Regions from separate parts of the Homo sapiens genome. Here region 2 is linked to region 1. The links are contacts of gene promoters, found by promoter capture Hi-C in human tissues and cell types (Jung and others, 2019). All regions are on one chromosome and are shown on one strand. The core of a region is centred on a gene start or on the middle of the fragment in contact, and the rest is flanking DNA. Distances in the headings are between cores, read along the strand shown.

Region 1 (3,603 bases), core at 553-3,052:
TCCTTATTTGATTAAATTACTATGTGGATTTCACATTTATTTTTATTGTTTTGTGCCTGTTTATTCTATGCCTAAGTTGGGGTATCACCAGGTCATTTCCTCCACCATCTGTGTTTCCCCAAGGATAAATCCTCCTGCTCATGCCCTTCACTCCTCCATTAGCCCATTCCCTAGAAAGCTGCTGGTTTTACACAGTGGCTGTGTGTCTTTGCCTTCTTAATGTAGCATTCAGAGTCCCACTCTGGAGCCAGGTATCAAATCCTAGCCCAGCCACTTACAGGCTATGTAGCACTGGCCAAGGTACTGAACTTCTCTGTGCCTCTGTTATTTTGATGTTAAAATGGAGTTATTTAGGATCTACTTTACAGGACTGTTGTGATGGAAATGGGTTAACATACAGAAAGCACTGAGAACAGAGTCAAATATGCCCTGACTGCTTAAAGGTTAGTTATTATGATCCCTGATGCTATTACTACTCTTACTGATATCATCGTGCCTCAGGTCTAACTGCTCCCAGAGTTACACACCAGCATGTCCAACAGCTGGCTGTATATCTGAACTCAAAAATCCAATAACCTCCTCCAAACAGAAATTGCCAGCTTTTCCCCAAACCTTTTCCTTACAGCTCCTTACAGAGCTCAAGGAACTCCTTGAGACTGCAGAAGCAGACAGGAAATGCTTTCAACCCACCACAAATTAACAACTGGCCTCCAGTGGTACTCACATTGTCTACATTTTTCATTGTTTTTTTTTTGTTTGTTTTTTGTTTGTTTGTTTGTTTGTTTTTGAGACAGAGTCTCACTCTGTCGCCCAGGCTGGAGAGCAGTGGTGCGATCTTGGCTCACTGCAACCTCGGCCTCCCAGGTTCAAGTGATTCTCCTGCCTCAGGCTCCCGAGTACTTGGGATTACAGGTGCCTGCCACCATGCCTGGCTAATTTTTGTATTTTTTTAGTAGAGACGAGGTTTCATCATGTTGGCCAGGCTGGTCTCAAACTCCTGACCTCAGGTGATCCACCCGCCTCGGCCTCCCAAAGTGCTGGGATTACAGGCATGAGCCACTGCGCCCAGCCCATTTTTCATTGTTGTAGCAGAGAAGTATCCCTGCTTCCATCAAGAGCCAATTTTCCTGTCACAGTTGGTTTAATGACATAGTTGGTGACAGGACCTAAACCACCAGTGGAAAATTGGCTCTTGATGGGAGCAGGGATACTTCTCTGTATGGAGTATATGTGGATGAAACTCCTTGGAGAAATGGACTAGTACACAGTCTTATAATGTGAGGATTCAGAACATAATTCCTAATGTGGGGAAGTCAAGCAGACATTTCATCAGTGGAGTACCAGGAGATTCAAACTCTGTACCCAACAGTGATAGGGGGACAATCTAAGCCCCAAGAGGCTGCATGCCTGATGGAGCAGATGAAACACATGGCTGTAATTAGCTCCCACCCCTTCGATACGTTCTCAACTCCACCAAAGCCTCAGCCTGTATGAGGGTGGAAAGTGGGGAGGGAGAGTGCAGGGAAGAAGGCACAGCTTCCACCACACTAGGTGACCAGGCGCTTCTCACCATTTTAACTCCTCCATCTCTCTCAAGCCTCATGTTAAGTCTATCAAACATCATATGCTTTCTCAATATAAAATATGCACCAATTTCTCCCTTTCCACTGATATAATCCTAGTCTCAACCCCTGTCATCTTTTTGATGGATTAGGAATGCCTTCTCTGGGTCCCGGGCCCCCTCTGTTTCACCAGCCTGGAATTGGCACAGGAGTCACAGCATTAGCCTTGCCCTCTGCCACCCTTGTAATTCATAAATCTCTGAAAACTTAAAAGTTTGAGCAAAAGTTTGTCATGTTTCTATGAGTAATTTATAATAAAACTTGATCAGAATTTGTGAGACTAACGTTTGTCTTTATATTTTCCTTTTTTTTTTTTTTTTTTTTGAGACACAGTCTCGCTCTGTCGTCCAGGCTGGAGTGCCGTGGCGTAATCTCGGCTCACTGCAACCTCTGCCTCCTGGATTCAAACAATTCTTCTGCCTCAGCCTCCTGAGTAGCTGGGATTACAGGTGCATGCTACCACGCCCAGATAATTTTTGTATTTTTAATAGAAACCGGGTTTAACCATGTTGGTCAGGCTGGTCTCAAACTCCTGACCTCATGATCCACCTGCCTCGGCCTCCCAAAGTGCTGGGATTACAGGCGCGAGCCACCACACCCAGCCTGTCTTTATATTTTCATTTAATGTGGACCTTGTTACATTTTACCGCAGATTTTGTATTTTTGTGTGTGTTTGTTTGTTTGTTGGTTTTTGAGACAGTCTACCTCTGTCGCCCAGGCTGCAGTGCAGTGGCACAATTTCAGCTCACTGCAACCTCCGCCTCTGTGGTTCAAACAATTCTTCTGCTCAGCCTCCTGAATAGCTGGGACTACAGGCACGCGCCACTACGCCTGGCTAATTTTTGCATTTTTAGTAGAGATGGGGTTTCACCATATTGGCCAGGCTGGTCTCGAACTCTTGACCTCGTGATCCGCCCACCTCGGCCTCCAAAAGTGCTGGGATTACAGGCATGGTTTTTTTTTTGTTCGTTTTGTTTTGTTTTTTTTTTAGAGACTTGGTCTCCTTCCATTTCCCAGGCCAGAGTTCAGTAGGGCGGTCATAATCCACTGTAGCCATGAACTCCCTGGCTCAAACAAGCTACACAGACATGCCACCATGCCTGGCTAACATTTTTAACATTATTTTTGGTAGAGACAGGGTCTTGCTTTGTTGCTCAGGCTAGGGATTCACAGAGTCTTGCTCTGTCTCCCAGGCTGGAATGCAGTGGCGCAATCTTGGCTCACTCTAGCCTCTGCCTCCCAGGTTCAAGTAATTCTCCTGCCTCAGCCTCCCAAGTAGCTGGGATTACAGGTGCCCACCACCATGCCCGGCTAATTTTTGTATTTTTAGTAGAGAAAGGGTTTCACCATGTTGGCCAGGCTGGTCTTGAACTCCTGATCTCAGGTGATCTGCCTGCCTCAGCCTCCCAAAGTGCTGAGATTACAGGTGTGAGCCACTGCACCTAGCCTGCAGAAATATTAATGTGTTTGTTTATGACCTGTTGACCCAGGACCAGTGATGGTATAGAACACTGTATTAGAGACATGGAGCTGGGGCTGGATGAAGATTCCATCAGTAATTCAATCAACAGACAAGTGTTATCCAATCACGTCTTTAAATCAATCACTGACATGGAGCTGGGGCTGGATGAAGATTCCATCAGTAATTCAATCAACAGACAAGTGTTATCCAATCACGTCTTTAAATCAATCACTGATCCCAGCCCCTATAAAAGGGAGCAGCCTTAGGAGGCACATCAGATAAACCCAGTGTGGAAAGCTAGTCACACATCAGCTCAGTGTTCGGCCCGGGATTACCCAGTCAACCAAGGAGGTAAGCTTCCATAATGGAAGGAAAATTTTGTGCCTTTGAGTGTGTATACATTTTGTGTCTTTGAGTGTGTATACATAATTTTGTGTCTTTGAGTGTGTATACATGTGTATGTAGGCATAGCTATTTCAGGAAAATTCCTAACTACAGAGATATGGGGGTCTCCCAGGT
Region 2 (3,684 bases), core at 736-3,235, 250 kb before region 1:
ACAGGCTTGAGCCACCACACCTGGCCTTGTTTTTTTTTTTTTTTCCAGACAGAGGCTAACTCTGTCGCCCAGGCGGGAGTGCATTGATGTGATCTCGGATCATTGCGACCTCTGTCTCCCAGGTTCAAGCAATTCTCCTGCCTCAGCCTTCCAAGTAGCTGGGATTACAGGCATGAACCAACACACCCAGCTAATTTTTGTATTTTTAGTAGAGACAGGATTTCACCATGTTGGCCAGGCTGGTCTCGAACTCCTGGCCTCAAGTGATCTGCCTGCCTCAGCCTCCCAAAGTGCTGGGATTACAGGTATGAGCCACCGTGCCCAGTGGTTCTAGGTCTTTAATCTGAGGGGGGTAGTAGCTAGGGAAGGTTTGAGAAAGAAAAAAGAGGTGATTTGACCTAGATTCTTTTTTTTTTTTTTTGAGACGGAGTCTCCCTCTGTCGCCCAGGCCAGAGTGCAGTGGCGTGAACTCGGCTCACTGCAAGCTTCGCTTCCTGGGTTCACGCCATTCTCCTGCCTCAGCCTCCCAAGTAGCTGGGATTACAGGCACCTGCCATCATGCCCGGCTAACTTTTTTTTGTATTTTTTAGTAGAGCCAGGGTTTCACCGTGTTAGGATGGTCTCGATCTCCTGACCTCATGATCTGCCCGCCTCAGCCTCCCAAAGTGCTGGAATTACAGGCCTGAGCCACTGCACCCAGCCAGATTTGACCTAGATTCTAAGAGGCTTCCTCTGCCTGCAGAATGGAGGACAGAGTGAGAGTTAGGGAAGAACCAAGGATACCTGGGTGATAATTCCTGCCACAGTCCAGTGGAGGTTGGTGGTGGCTGGACACGAGTGGCGGCTGTGGAGGTGGGAGGGGTGGGTGGCTTCTGTAGGTTTTGATCTAGAGCTGCTCACATTTTTTGATGTACAGAGCGAGGAAGCTCGGGAGGTAGGATGCAAGAGGGAGTCAGGAATGGCCCCATTGTTTTGGCCTTGTTGAGAAGGTTGGATGTTCCAGCAACTAAGATGTGGTAAATTTTGTAGTAGGGGGAGTTTAATAGAGCATATGAAGAACGAGGTTTGGGCTAAGTCAAAAATGTTCCAGAGACTCGAGTAGAGGTGCCAGACTGGCAGTTGAACACACAGGAATGGAGTTCAATGGAGGTGTTCAGGATGGAGACATCTACTATATGATAGCCAGCGTGTACACCATGGTAAATCTGTGGGTCAGATTTAGGAATAGACATCTTTAGATTCTGGAGGCAATGCTGTTAGGGAGAAGGAAGGGGAAGGAAGGGGCTGAGGACTGGATCTTTCTGTTGGGCACCTGGATGGGGTTGCTGGGCATCACAAAGACAGATGAGGGAGTGGATGGACTGAGGATATGTGTGTGTGTATTTGTGTGTTTATGTTGGAGATGGCCTTTGGAAAATAAAGGCTTTTGAGGGGGAGAGTGCACATAAAAGTTGGATGGTGAGGCATCTCCACAAAAGAGGTGAGATGATAGTGAGGTCTGGGAGGGGCTTAGTACCCTATTATGGACTCAACAGGGTTTTGTGGCAAATATTGGTTGTACCTGGGTAGTTTCACGCGAACTCTGAGACTATTTTGGCAGAAGATGGGATCATCTAGAAGCATTGCTAGTCCTGGGGTGGGGATGGTGTTGGGGAGGTCAGTGTATCTGGGCTTTGGATTAGAGTTGGGGGATAGAGAAAGTCGTGACTGCTTATGGGACAACATATACATGTAGAAGGGGGAGACAGCCAAGATCTGGAACTCAAAGGAGGTGTGCAAGAATATGTGGGTTTGGAAAGCTGAGGTCAAAGAAAGAAACAGGATTGGGTTGGGAGACGTTCAAAGCAATGTTTCCTAAACATTGCATTCTGGTCATTCTAGGGGCAAATACGATTCTGGTTGCATTTGTCATGCACTGCAGGATTTCATGTGCAGAGTGGCATGGTAACACGCCATGGAAATACTCCCAGTTGGGCTGTGGTGGTTGTTAGTGTTGCCAAGAGTGGAGGTGTTGGATACATGAGGGAGGTGCCATCCAAAGCCTGAGTGGAGGAGCATGAATAGATGGTTCCACCTCTGGCACTGGGCACTTAAGGGAGGAGGGTGAGTCCAAGTTTGGTTATCTGAGAGGCAAGATCTGGGTGACTCTAGGGAAATTGAGTGACAAAAGAAAGGTAGGCCCCCATGTGCCAGGTGTTTTTTTTGTTTTGTTTTGTTTTTTGAGATGGAGTCTAGCTCTGTTGCCCAGGATGGAGTGCAGTGGCGCGATCTCGGCTCACTGCAACCTCTGCCTCCCAGGTTCAAGCAGTACTCTGCCTCAGCCTCCCGAGTAGCTGGGATTACAGGTGCCTGCCACCATGCCCGGCTAATTTTTGTATTTTTAGTAGAGATGGGGTTTTACTATCTTGGCCAGGCAGGTCTTGAACTCCTAACCTTGTGATCTACCTGCCTCAGCCTCCCAAAGTGCTGGGATTAGAGGCATGAGCCACCATGCCCGGCCATGTGCCAGGTTTTGATGGCGCTTTTCAGTCTCTTTCCCCCACCCATCTTTGTTCTATACTGGAGTCAGTGATCAGTGGCAATGAGGGGAGAGCAGGTACAGGTGCCATGAAGACCTAGTGTCTCTTCCTCCTTCAGAAGTGGGTGGAGGCTAGCAGGGTGTGGATGTGTGTGGGTGTGGTGAGGAGCACTGAAGGTCCTGGAGAGGGAAGTGTATCAGTGATTGTACCCACAGGATTTCAATCTGTGAACAAGAGTGAGTGATTACAGAAAAGCCAATGACATTGAAATAATTTTTTTTTTCAATTGGTGAGAAATCATACCTGGATGAAATGATTTTTATTCCTTTCATTTCCTGAGTGCAGGGAGCATGCCACATCACATAAAGCCACAGAGGAAATAGCGGATTTGGTCAGGTGGCAGATGCACAGTTGAAGGGAGAGCATATATCAGTGGCTTTATTGGGGTTTTGGCTGGAAAGGCATGCAGGGGAGAGTGAAGAGCTTAAGACTGGGTAGTTTGCATGATTTTGGCAGCCTTGGGGTATAGGGACTATCCCTCCTTTTGTGGTACAAGCCTTGTGTTGATTTAGGGCAGGAGAAAGAATCATGTGTGATTGTTAGATAGGAGGCAGTTCAGTCTATGGGATCTGGATTATAAGAGAAATGTTAAAATGCTGGTTGTTATTTTGGTCCTCTAATTCTTAGATTTCAAGTAGATAAATACAGATCTAAGGAAACAGAATAAGAAGTTGCTCATGGGCCGGGCGTGGTGGCTCATGCCTGTAATCCCAGCAATTTGGGAGGCCAAGGCAGGCAGTTCACGAGGTCAGGAGTTCTAGACCAGCCTGAACAACATGGTGAAACCCCATCTCTACTAAAAATACAAAAATTAGCCAGTCATGGTGGCACGCGCCTGTAATCCCAGCTACTCAGGAGGCTGAGGCAGGAGAATCACTTGAATCCGGGAGGCGGAGCTTGCAGTGAGCCGAGATCACACCACTGCACTCCAGCCTGGCAACAGAGCGAGACTCCATCTCAAAAAAAAAAAAAAAAAGAAAGAAAAAAAAAGTTGCTCACAGACTAAACTGTTATAATTTTGGCAGGATTATATGGTTTTTGAGGACGTGGCCATACATTTCTCCCAGGAGGAGTGGGGAATTCTTAATGACGTTCAGAGACACCT

What was found. The method cuts DNA at HindIII sites, captures the fragments that hold promoters and counts their contacts. A contact is called where the count stands out against the background at its distance.
Region 2: a contact is called between a fragment that was not itself captured here and the fragment with the promoter of ZSCAN4 in region 1, in 1 of the 25 tissues and cell types used here (spleen).

Annotation. Positions count from the first base shown.
Region 1 is chr19:57,667,133-57,670,735 of GRCh38, forward strand. ZSCAN4 (zinc finger and SCAN domain containing 4) reads left to right here and starts at 1,803. Exons shown (of 5, transcript NM_152677.4): 1 at 1,803-2,071; 2 at 3,113-3,435. The HindIII fragment of the contact is 8,369 bases long and covers 1-3,603 here.
Region 2 is chr19:57,414,308-57,417,991 of GRCh38, forward strand. ZNF17 (zinc finger protein 17) reads left to right here. Exons shown (of 4, transcript NM_001330617.2): 3 at 3,605-3,684. Among named protein-coding and RNA genes, the nearest start is that of ZNF17, 5.0 kb to the left of the region's middle. The HindIII fragment of the contact is 5,457 bases long and covers 1-3,684 here.